4 separate regions of the Homo sapiens genome follow, and all the other regions are linked to region 3. Evidence: promoter capture Hi-C in human tissues and cell types (Jung and others, 2019). All regions are on one chromosome and are shown on one strand. The core of a region is centred on a gene start or on the middle of the fragment in contact, and the rest is flanking DNA. Distances in the headings are between cores, read along the strand shown. Region 1 overlaps TMEM135 (transmembrane protein 135). Region 2 holds the start of TMEM135 (transmembrane protein 135). Region 3 holds the start of FZD4 (frizzled class receptor 4). Region 4 overlaps TMEM135 (transmembrane protein 135).

Region 1 (3,012 bases), core at 148-2,647, 100 kb after region 3:
GTTGGGGGCAGCATGGTGTAATGCACTGGTTGTGAGTTACAAGATCTGAGTTTTTGTTTTGCTTTGCGATTTATGATGCGATTTCTTCATTTATAAGTAGAAGAGAATCTTGCCTTAACTTCGTGGCTTGCTGTGGGAATCATATGAGATAGTGCACATATAAAAGCTTTAAAAACTGTAAGAAGATAGGTAAATATTGGTCTATAATACTTGGTTTCTTGTTATTTTGTTTGAGATATTTATATTTGGCTTTTGTAGCTTATGATTCTAACCTTAAAAATAAAGACGTTGGAAGCAATTCAGATTTAGCTTATTAGAGTTCTTCAAAGAAACAGAAGCCTCTGTGTGTGTGTGTGTGTGTGTTTGTGTGTGTGTATAAAATAAGGAATTGGCTCACAATTTTGGAGGCTTAATAAATGCCAAGATCTGCAGTTGGCATGCTGGAGACCCAGAGAGCCAATGTGTAATTCCAGTGTGAGTCCAAAGGCCTGAGTACTAGAAGAGGACAATGGTGTAAGTTCCAGTCTGGAAGCCAGCAGGCTGTAGACCCAAGAAGAACTGGTGTTTCAGTCAGGTCTGAAGGCAGGAAAATACCAGTGTCCTAGCTCAAGAAATCAGGCAGGAGGAGTTTGTTGTTTTGTTCTCTTCAGGTCTTCAACTGAGAGGATGAAGCCTACTCACATTAGGAAGGACAATCTTTTTCTCAGTCTACTGATTCAAATGTTAATCTCACCTAGAAGCACCCTCATAGACATACCCAGAATATCATTTGACCAAATGTCTAGGCATTCCTTGGCCCAGTTAGATTGATACATAAAATTAAACATGGTATACAGAAAAATTTGTTTGTTACAACAAATAATTCTGCCTCCTTTATTATTATTATTATTATTTTTTTGACAGTCTTGCTCTGTCACTCAGGCTGGAGTGCAGTGGCGTGATCTTGGCTTGCTGCAACCTCTGTCTCCTGGGTTCAAGTGATTCTGCTGCCTCAGCCTCCTGAGTTGCTAGAATTACAGGCGTGTGCCACCACACTCCACTAATTTTTTGTATTTTTAGTAGAGACTGGGTTTCGCTATGTTGGCCAGACTGGTCTTGAACTTCTGGTCTCAAGTGATCCACCCGCCTTGGCCTATGATAAATTGTTTTTTAAAAACAAGGTCTTATTTTATTTTATTTTATTTTTGACAGAGTCTTGCTCTCTTGCCGAGGCTGGAGTGCAGTGGCGCGATCTCAGCTCACTGCAAGCCCCACCTCCTGGGTTCATGCCATTGTCCTGCCTCAGCCTCCCGAGTAGCTGGGACTACAGGCGCCCACCACCATGCCCGGCTAATTTTTTTGTATTTTTAGTAGAGACGGGGTTTCATCATGTTAGCCAGGATGGTCTCCATCTCCTGACCTCATGATCTGCCTGCCTCACCCTCCCAAAGTGCTGGGATTACAGGCATGAGAACAAGGTCTTATTTTTAATTTTAATTTTAATTTAATTTTTTTGTTTGTTTGAGACAGAGTCTCGCTCTGTCACCCAGGCTGGAGTACAGTGGTGCAATCTTGGCTCACTGCAACCTCCACCTCCTGGGTTCAAGCAATTCTCCTGCCTCAGCCTCCCAAGTAGCTGGGATTACAGGCACCCACCATCATGACTGGCTAATTTTTGTATTTTTGTGGAGACGGGGCTTCACCATGTTGGGCAGGCTGGTCTTGAACTCCTGACCTCAGGCGATCCACCTGCCTCGGCCTCCCAAAGTGCTGACGTCAGCCACCGCGCCCAGCCGAAAAATTTTTAGAAAAAAAATACAGGAGGTCTTTTGATTATGGATGAATATCCTACTTTAGTTCTGTTGTTTGAAGTTCTTTTTTTTTTTTTTTGAGATGGAGTCTCGCTCTGTTGCCCAGGCTGAAGTGCAATGGCGTGATCTCGGTTCACTGCAATCTCTGCCTCCCAGATTCAAGCGATTCTCCTGTGATTCTCCTGCCTCAGCCTCACAAGTAGCTGGGATTACAGGCGTGTGCTACCACGCCTGGCTAATTTTTGTATTTTTAGTAGAGACAAGGTTTTGCCATGTTGGCTGAGCTGGTCTCGAACTCCTGACCTGTAGTGATCCACTCGCCTCAGCCTCCCAAAGTTCTGGGATTACAGGCATGAGCTACCACACCTGGCCTTTCCCAGATACTCTGATTACCAGAGAGGAAATCTCTTCTTAACACTTAATAAAACAAAACTGCACAACACAAGAAGGAATTGGGGTTGAATCAGGAAGCAATTCTGCAGAGTGAAGGAAACTAGCATTTTCAAAATGCCTACTATGTGCTAGTTACTCTGCTAAATACTTTATATTTGTTATCTTATTTATAAAAAGTACTTATTAACAGATCTTGGGGCCGGGCGTGGTGGCTCACGCCTGTAATTCCAGCACTTTGTGAGGCCAAAGCAGACAGATCACGAGGTCAGGAGTTCGAGACCAGCCTGCATAAAATGGTGAAAATCTGTCTCTACTAAAAATACAAAAATTAGCTGGGTGCAGTGGCACATGCCTGTGGTCTCAGCTGCTTGGGAGGCTGAGGCAGGAGAATCGCTTGAACCGGGAGGTGTAGGTTGCTGTGGGCGGAGATCGCGCCACTGCACTCCAGCCTTGGCAACAGAGCATGACTCTGAATAAAAAAAAAGAAAGAAAAAAAGTAAATCTTATAGATCTTGGACAAGGAAGAGGGTAAAGTTAATTGCACAGCTGGTTGTTGTCCAGTCTCTGCTATTGGAATTAATTCTTTTTATTTGCTAATTTAGTGTTGTGAATGTTGTTTTTCCATCTTCTTTCCTCTTTATTTTTTTGTAGACTGGAACTGTAGTTTCTAGCCCCTGAGTCATCATGGGTGCCTTATTTAGTCTTTCTGCAGGTTAGATCACCAAATTTTTGAAGAGTCAGGTTATTTTTATATCTTAGTTGTAGTTTCCCTATGTTTTTGTGTTTTTCTCTGAGAATAGGCAACTTGATCTTCTGTAGGAGCTAGTAA
Region 2 (3,068 bases), core at 366-2,865, 82 kb after region 3:
TTGTCCCATTAATTAAAAAAGATTGTATTCACCATCCTCTCTTGCAATGAAGTGTGGCCATGTGATTAAGCTTTGTCCAAGGAACGTAAGTTGTAGTAGTTTGTATGGATCTTCTGGGAAGTTTTTTTAAAAACAGGAAGTATGCCCTTTTCTCCCCGCCCCCGCCCCCCCGTTTTTTTTTTTTTTTTTTTTTTGAGATAGAGTCTCTCTCTGTTGCCAAGGCAACAGTGGTGTGATCTTGGCCCACTGCAACCTCTGCCTCCTGAGTTCAAGCGATTCTCCTGCCTCAGTCCCTGAGTAGCTACGATTACAGGAGCGTGTCACCATTTCTGGCAAATTTTTGTATTTTTAGTAGAGACAGGGTTTCACCATGTTGGCCAGGCTGGTCTCAAACTCCTGACCTCAAGTGATCCACCCGCCTCAGCCTCTCAAAGTACTAGGATTACAGGTGTGAGCCACCGCGCCCGGCCTCTCTTCCCCTTTTGCTGGTCTTCCTGGCTAGCATGTTGATGTCATGTTATTTTCTAAGTTAGGGTGGAAATCACAGGTAGCAGATGGCATAGCAAACTGTCACAAAGAGGCTGGGATCCCTAATCGTTATGGAGCCACCATTTTATTCTAGGACTGCCTACCTTTACCTGAGAGAAAGATACTTTTATCTTTTTGCCATTGTTGTTTTGGACTTTTCATCTGAGTATTTCTCTTTTATTTTCTTCAAACAACTACACCTATCTGATATTATCTTGTTCAGTTTTCTTTGTTATTTTCTGTCTTCTCCCTCTAGAATACTAGCTTCGTGAAAATAAAAATCTTGTCTCTCTTGTTTCTGTTTGTTTCCTTAGCACAGTGCCTGGTAAATAGTAATGACTCAGTAAATATTTGTAGATGAATGAATGAAGACTAGAAGATTCGAATGGAATTCTTCTAAAGGTAGTTCGTTTCTGCTTTAAGAGACTATGGAATTTAGAAATCCAAAGAAACTGGCAGGTTTGTTACATGTGAGGAGATTGACAGAGGGGTTATATGACTCAAGCAACACAGGACCCTTGTCTTGCTAATTGTTGGCCAAGTTCCCTAGCCAGGTCTGAGTTCTAACACACGACTGCCGCCTCTACTGTGTGTGCTGTTTGGTTGATAAGCACCTATCAAAGATGCTGTAGACAGGATTGCTCCGTGGCCTAAGGTTTGGACAGGATGACCTATTGCCCTTCCCCACACACGGTCGGGGTATGAACATAGCTGAGACTTTTCAAGCCTTCGCAGGTATCACAGAGCTTGGAAAGCCCAGCACTTGGGGGTAGTTAGTTGCAACTAGCAGGCAGCCCTAGCTGTTTATTACCTGGGACTCTCGGGAAGGCAAGCTCCCGGTGCTGGGGAGGACGTTTGTCCCAGGCATTCCTCTGGCAACCCTCTTCCTCCACCAGCTCCCAACAAAGACATTTAATCCCTTTCTTCCACTACCCTCCGCTCTACTTGGCTTGCAGTTGGAAGCTGAAGTACAATTTGACCCAAGCCACCCCCTACTGCGCACCTGCCATAGCGCTTGCGCCCCGGAGCCGGGCACGGCGTCGCGGGGGTGGGGAGGCGGCTCGTCCCCGAGCTGCGCTCCCTCGCGTACAGCCTCGGCTCTGGGTGCGAAGATCCTCTCTGCCTCCGCTCACCCAGCCGCGCCGCCGCGCGGGAACGCGCCCCAGCGGATGCCCTCTTGAGGGAGCGCGCACGCGCCGCCTCTCCCCGCCTCCCCGGTGCGCGTCCCGCCCCCTTGAGCTGCGATACGCCGAGCGCTCAACATCCGAGGACTTTGGCCCAGAGTAACCCCGCTCTCGTGACCTTTCCCCTCCATTCCGCACCTCCGAGTGCTGGCCGGGCGAGAGGCTGGCGGCTGGGCTCTCGCGCCCCTCCCTGCAGGGCTCAGGCTCTCCCCCTCCTGTCTTCTCCGCGCTGTTCCTCGTCATGGCGGCCCTCAGCAAGTCCATCCCTCATAACTGCTATGAGATCGGCCACACTTGGCACCCTTCCTGCCGGGTCTCCTTCCTGCAGATCACCGGGGGCGCCCTGGAGGAGTCCCTGAAGATCTATGCTCCTCTGTACTTGGTGAGACCCGTCACCCGTCCCGCAGGGCGAGTTTAGTCTGGAAGATGGGCCGGGGGCTGCAGTTGGTGCTCCCGAGGGGCTCTGGGGGACTTGCCTTGTGTCGGGCTCTCTTTTGGAGGGGTCGGAGTGTTTTGGGGGGTCGGTAGGGGGAAGGGGGAGGTCGCAAGGGAAGGATATACCAATTCCTGCAAGGGAGAAGGAGGAGGGGAATTAGAGATTGAGCTGTCATCTGAATGCCTGTTGCTAGGAAGAGGATGGCTCCCAACTTTTAGAATTAAGTTTAGGACACTTAAAAACGTTAATTCAAAGACCAGCCTTATTTTCCTCTGGCCTGCCTTGTGATGGAGAGGTATTTGTAGGTCAGCGAGGCTATGAGAAGGACCTGCAATCTTTCCTCATCTAGTTTCCCCTGTTTTATTTTGCTTTTTTTTTTTTTTTTTTTTAATGAAGAAGGCATATTTGGCCCTAAGTCCCTGTGGCCTCAGATCTTGACTCAGTTTTGAGATGACAGGATTGTGATTTGGGGGTTTTGCAAGTGTTTTTGCAAGTTCACAGAACAGACTCCTGGGTTGAGATTGTGTGTGGTGATTTAAAGGGTGATGCCAGTCTTTCAGTCAGTGAACTTGGTTAGGACATCTGACTTTGTGTCACCTAGGACCTTCTGTTACACAACTTTACATACAGGGCAATTAATAGGGAATATTTGGCAGTATGTATATGTAACACTGAGGACTATTAAAGATGCTCTTAAATGTTCTCCGCAAAATCTTTTTTTCAATAATCTTATCCTTGATATTAAAGATTTATTATTACTTTGGCCATTGAAGTGCATTGTCTCATTTTCTTGCCTTACAGTTTGTGTCCTAAGAAGACAGATCATATTTTTTGTATGTCTTCTAAAAGTTTCAATATTCAGCAGATGATCAATTATTATTTCTCATTGAAGTAATTTAGATTTATACCCTAATGTTCCT
Region 3 (2,910 bases), core at 359-2,858:
TTGTACTTTTAGTAGAGACAGGATTTCGCCATGTTGGTCAGGCTGGTCTCGAACTCCTAACCTCGTGAGCCACCTGCCTCGGCCTCCCAAAGTGCTGGGATTACAGGCGTGAGCCACTGCGCCCGGCCAGAAACCAGATTTCTGAAGCCTGGACAACTAACGTCTACTTTTTCCCACAACTTCTCTCTTTTCTAAATTTCTAAAAATCACCCAGCCTCACCAACCCAAACATAACCAATGTTAACACTTTAAAAATTTTCCTGTCAGTCTTTTATTATCCCAATAAATTTTTTATTTTGCAGGATTATAATCACCCTGTATATGCAAATTCTTATTACTGTGGAATAAACATTTTCTCTATCATTAGATATGCTTTACATTTTTTAATGACTGCAAAAAAATTTCTTCCAATATACCAACCACCTTCCTGCAGCTTCTTCTCACCCTCCAAGCATTAAACGTGCCTTCAACTGTGAGGATAAGAAAGAACTCAAGCCAACCCAACCACTCCTTCATGCATGACCTCTAAAACGCTGCGGGACGTCGTGAGAAGGGGCTATTCAGCAGAAAAAGGTGCAGTAGTGTTTCATTTAATAACACCCCAAAAATAGTGGGGAGAAGGAAGTTCGGTGAAGGATGGTCTCCTTATCACTCCCTCCAAGTCTTAGCTGCAGCTGGCTCCCTCCCACTCGCCCACCGAGCAGTGGCGGCCAGAATCCTTGGCAGAGATAACCCTCAGCTCCACTGGGGTTAGGGGTCTGGGCCAGACATGGGTGGGCAAGAGAGAAAAACGGAAGGGCGGGGTGTAAGAGTGGGTTCTTTCCCAGGCCAGATGACTTACACAACGTTTTGGCTTCCAGTCCCTGAGAAAGTGGGGGTGGGGATGGAAATCACTTTTCCAGGAGAGCTGTCTCCTTCGGGCTAGGATGATCAACTTGGCATGGGCTCTGCAAAGTTAGTTTGGAGCGTCCCTCCCCAAGGGGTCCCGCCAGGGGTGGGGGTGGGGGCGCCCACCTGCAGCTGGCTGGAGCAGCCGTACTGGATGAGCGGTGTGAAAGTTGTCAGCTGCAGCTCGGCGTCCGTCTGCAGCTCGTGCCCAACCAGGTTGGGCATCTTGGTCACGTTGTAGCCGAGGTTCTGGCACATGGAGATGCGGATGGGGTCGCAGCGCCGCTCTTCCTCGTCCCCGAAGCCCCGCGCCGGCCCCAGGAGCAGCAGCAACTGCAGGAGCAACCCCAGACTGAGACCGACGCCCCCGGGCGCCCCCGGGACGCTCGGCCCTGCGCCCCGCCAGGCCATGGCCAGCATCGGGGGTAGCAGCGGCAGCGGCTGGGGCTGCTCTGGCAGACACCCCCAGTTTGCACGGGGGCGCCGGCTGCCCGCGCTGCTCCCAGCTCCCGGGACGGGAGTGTGATGCGGCGACGAGGGGGCAGCGGCCGGCTCTCCAGCAGCTGCGCGCGACTGTGTGGGATTTTAGACGTCCCGGGCCGAGGCCGAGGGACAGGCTGCGAGGGTCATGGCTGCAGGCGGCGAGCCCACAAGCCGGCGCCGGCCGCGTCCGTTCGGCGTCTCCGCGAGGCCAGCCAGCAGCCAGCGCTGCGCAGCTCTCACCGCCGGAGCCCTGCGCGGCGCTGGAGGCTCGCGGCGCGGCGGCGGGGCGGGACGGACAGCGGGCCTCTCCAATGGCCGGGCGCGGTGGGCAGCTAGGGGCGAGGCGGCGGGGCGGGGCCGCTCTCCCGCAGGAGGAGTCAGGCCCCCGCCCTCCGGCCCCCTCCTCCGGCCGCCCCTCCCTCCCTCCCTCCCCTAGCGCCCCGCCCCGCCCGCCTCCCGGCTCTTGCTTTCCTCCCACCCGGATCTAGGCGCGCAGGGGCCAAGCAGGGACGCAGCCCAGTGGCTCCAGCCACGCCGTCCTGCCCCCTTCTGCAGGTGAGAAGTGCGCCCTGTTCCATCTGCCCCCTTTCCTTCCTGTCTCCTTTCAGCTGTAACCTAGGCCGGTGGCCACCTCCCCGTCAGGCAGAGAAACGTACACAAAGAATTGGGGATTTGGATTTACACCGATTGTGGCTTTCAGTCCCGGTTGTGTGACCTTGAGCAAATTGCTCAACCCCTCGGCGTCAGTCTCCTCTGTAAAGTCACTTGGGAGGATTAGAGATAAAGTGTAGAAGGCTTAGCATGGTGCCTGGTACTGCGTGAGTCCACAGCTATTTTCACTCCGGACCAGCGGCGATCGGGGCCCGGCCTCTCCCCGCCCCCAGACTCGCCCGACCTGCGCAGGGAGCCGCCCACCTCCAGCCGCCAGCGGGGAGGCGCCCCAGAGCTGCGGAGCTGCAGACCCGCCGACGGTCTCGCGCTCTGATTTCCTCACCGTATGAAATGAAATTCCACAGGGGGATTCGAAAGGAAATGAGACCGGGACTCTCCGTGCTTCTCGGCCCGCCGCCCTTCCTGTCTCGGGGACACGGTTTCTAAATAAGGTTGGGAGGGTGAGAGGGCGGGAGGGGAGAGGCTTGACCTGTGCACTGGGGACGAGGAAGGCGCACAACCACCGTGACTCCTCTCTCCCGGCCTCCCGGGCACCCCCTCCCCACCAGGCTGCACCCCTTTTTTTCTTTGCTTCTGCTTCGGCTCCTAGGGATCTGGGGATCATGTGACCCAGGTTTGAACCCAACTTTCCTGTCTCATTACCAGCCCCCCGCGGCTTTGTGCTGGTCCACCCTCTCTCTGCTTTCCAGTCGGCCAGTAAACTCCCAGCAGGTGGATTCCTCCACCGTTTACTTGTTGCTTGACTGTGTTGAAGCTATGGTGCCTCTCTGAGCCTCAAAGTGGCCGGCTGTAAAGTGGGGAAGTTCATATCCACCTCACACAGTTGTTCTAAGAGTTCAGTGAGATAATACCTGTAAATCATTTAGC
Region 4 (2,812 bases), core at 221-2,720, 120 kb after region 3:
AGTTTATTTTTTTTGAGACGGAGTCTCGCTCTGTCTCCCAGGCTGGAGTGCGGTGGCGCCATCTCTGTTCACTGCAAGCTCCGCCTCCCGGGTTCACGCCATTCTCTTGCCTCAGCCTGCCGAGTAGCTGGGACTATAGGTGCCCGCCAGCTAATTTTTTTTTTTGTATTTTTAGTAGAGACGGGATTTCACAGTGTTAACCAGGATGGTTTCGATCTCCGGACCTCGTGATCTGCCCGCCTCAGCCTCCCAGAGTGTTGGGATTACAGGCGTTCGCCACTGCACCCGGTCCAATTTTTTATTTTTATATTAAGTAGCTGAGGTCTCACTGTGTAGCCCAGGCTGGGCCGGTCCTGAGCTCAAGTGATCCTCCTGCCTTGGCCACTGAAACTGTTGGGATTACAGATGTGAACCACTGCACTTGGCCTATTTTCTTTTAATCTAAGATAGTGTCTCCACTTTTTCCCTCTACAGCATTGCTTTATTGAAGTGACCAGGCCAGTTGTCTCGTTGTATGTAATACATTTCTGATTTGTCTGAGTTATTTCTTCATGGAATTGGTGAATTGGTTCAACAATTGGGTCCCAAGCCCAATATCATTATGGTTTTTGCTGACGTGTAGAGGTACGTACTGCCTTGGTGGTCTTGTATAAGATCCAGAAGAAATCTCTGGATTAAAGCAGAGATTCTTGTTCTTTTCCCTTACTTTCTCCTAAATAAACAGGGTCTCTCTCTCTCTCTCTGTGTGCTGAACTGCTTGGAACTGAGCATGAGGTGACACAAGCATCCCTGTGGCTACCATCCCTGGGACTGCGCTGGGTCAGACTTGAAGCTAGCACAGCAGTGGGTCTTGCCCAAGGCTTGCTGTAACCATTACTTGGCTACCACTTGTGTTCACTCAAAGCCCTAGGGCTCTATAATCAACAGGTGGCAAAGCCAGCCAGGTTTTGTCCTTCCCTCTGGGTGACAAGTTCTCCCGGGCCCTGGGCAGGTCCAAAGATATTGTCTGGGAGCCAGGGATAGGAGTAAGAAAAGTTTGCCTGATATTCTTTTCCACTGTGGCTAAACTGGTGCTCAAACCACAATATAAAGTCCTTCCCACTCTTCCCTCCCCTTTCCACAGGCAGAGGAGCCTCTCCATGTGGGCACCACCACCACCAGCCCATGGCAGGCTTCTGACTGGCCACTGCTGATGTTCACTTAAATACCACAGGCTCTTCAGTCAGCCTGTAGTAAATGCTGCCAGGCCTGGGACTCACCCTTCAGGGCAGTAGGCCCCCCCTCTGGCCTAGGGTAGGTTCAGAAATGCTGTCCAAGAGCCTAGACCTGGACTTGGGGACTCCAGGAGCCTGCTTGTTGCTTTACCCCACTGTGTCCAAGCTGGTACCTACGTGCAAGACAAAGTTCCCTTTTGTTTTCCTTCTGCTTTTCTCAGACAGAAGGAGTCTTTTGCCATAGCCAGCCACAGCTGGGAATGTGCTAGGTCACATCTGTAGTGGGCATGTCTCAGAGCCCAAGGCTACGGCATACTCCTTGGGTATCGCTCCTAATTATTCAGGGTCTAAGGGCTTGTTAGTCTGCAGGTGATGAATCCTGCCAGTACTGGGTGCTTTCCTTCAAGGCAGCAGGTTCCCTTTTGGCCCAAGGTATGTCTAGAAATGTCATCCAGGAGCAAGGCTTGGAATGGATCCTTCATGACTCTGCCTGGTCTCTTCTCCTACTGTGGCTGAGCTGGTATCCAGTGATGACATCTTATTTAACTGTAGTATAATATAAAACCAGGAAGTTGACATTACTGTCAACTACACTATAGACTTCATTCAGTATTCACTAATTCTTATGTATACTCATTTGTGTACATGTCTATGCAGTTTGTTCCCATGTATAGAGTTGTTTACCCACCACTACAATCAATGTCCAAAACTGTTTCAACACTACCAAGGATTGCCCTTGAACTATCCCTTTGTAGTTGCACCATTTTCATCAATTCCTGTCTCCTGGTAACAACTAGTCTACTTTTCATTTCTATATTTATATCATTTCGAGGAAGTTATATAAATGGAATGATGCAATGTATAACGTTTGGACATAGGCTTTTTCTTTTTTAAACTAAGCATGATGCCTTTGAGATCCATCTAAGATGTAGCTTGTATTACTAAGCTTATTCCTTTTTTATTGCCCAGTAGCATTCTACTATATGGATGTACCAGAGTTTGTTAAACATTCACTTGTCGAAGGACATTTATGTTATTTTCAGTTTTTGGCTGCTCCATCCATGGACATGGTTTATCTCTCCATTTAATTAGATCTTTTATTTCTTTTCATCAGTTTTTATAATTTGCAGAATGCGTTTCATATACGTGTTAGATTTACACCTGTTTCCCTTTTTGGGAACAATTGCAAATGATTTTTCTGTTTTTGTAATAGCTTTATTGAGTCATAATTCATATTCCATACAGTTCACCCTTTTGAAAACTGCACAATTCATTTGTTTTTAATATATTCACAAAGTTGTTTAACTACCATCACAAACAATTTTAGAACACTTTATTCACCTCAAATAGAAACCCCTTTAACTGTCACCCCCTAATCCTTCATCCTCCTCACCCAGCCCTAGGCAACCACTAATTTCTGTCTCTAAAGATTTGCTTCTTCTGGACATTTTATATAATGGAGTCATACAATATGTGTCATTGGTGACTGGCTTCTTTTACTTAGTGTAATGGTTTTGAAGTTTGATGTCATACGTATCATTTCATTACATTACTTTTTATTGCCAAATAATTCATTATATGGATATGTCACATTTTAT

The links. The method cuts DNA at HindIII sites, captures the fragments that hold promoters and counts their contacts. A contact is called where the count stands out against the background at its distance.
Region 1: a contact is called between a fragment that was not itself captured here and the fragment with the promoter of FZD4 in region 3, in 6 of the 25 tissues and cell types used here (H1 embryonic stem cells, dorsolateral prefrontal cortex, liver and 3 more).
Region 2: a fragment that was not itself captured here is called in contact with the fragment with the promoter of FZD4 in region 3 in 6 of the 25 tissues and cell types used here (adrenal gland, aorta, bladder and 3 more).
Region 4: a contact is called between a fragment that was not itself captured here and the fragment with the promoter of FZD4 in region 3, in 2 of the 25 tissues and cell types used here (heart left ventricle and neural progenitor cells).

What each region holds. Positions count from the first base shown.
Region 1 is chr11:87,057,454-87,060,465 of GRCh38, forward strand. All of the region lies in intron 1 of TMEM135 (transmembrane protein 135), which reads left to right. Among named protein-coding and RNA genes, the nearest start is that of TMEM135, 21 kb to the left of the region's middle. The HindIII fragment of the contact is 7,883 bases long and covers 1-3,012 here.
Region 2 is chr11:87,036,093-87,039,160 of GRCh38, forward strand. It overlaps TMEM135 (transmembrane protein 135), which reads left to right and starts at 1,842. Exons shown (of 15, transcript NM_022918.4): 1 at 1,842-2,094. The coding sequence starts at 1,954. It overlaps LOC105369422 (a long non-coding RNA gene), which reads right to left and starts at 1,703. Exons shown (of 5, transcript XR_007062827.1): 1 at 1,532-1,703. RefSeq lists an enhancer at 1,317-1,817 and a silencer at 1,474-1,863. The HindIII fragment of the contact is 9,814 bases long and covers 1-3,068 here.
Region 3 is chr11:86,953,787-86,956,696 of GRCh38, forward strand. It overlaps FZD4 (frizzled class receptor 4), which reads right to left and starts at 1,609. Exons shown (of 2, transcript NM_012193.4): 1 at 1,015-1,609. The coding sequence starts at 1,299. It overlaps FZD4-DT (FZD4 divergent transcript), which reads left to right and starts at 1,835. Exons shown (of 3, transcript NR_038905.1): 1 at 1,835-1,926. RefSeq lists silencers at 1,287-1,336, 1,467-1,836, 2,187-2,336. The HindIII fragment of the contact is 8,131 bases long and covers 1-2,910 here.
Region 4 is chr11:87,075,163-87,077,974 of GRCh38, forward strand. The region is part of intron 3 of TMEM135 (transmembrane protein 135); the gene reads left to right. Among named protein-coding and RNA genes, the nearest start is that of TMEM135, 39 kb to the left of the region's middle. The HindIII fragment of the contact is 5,757 bases long and covers 1-2,812 here.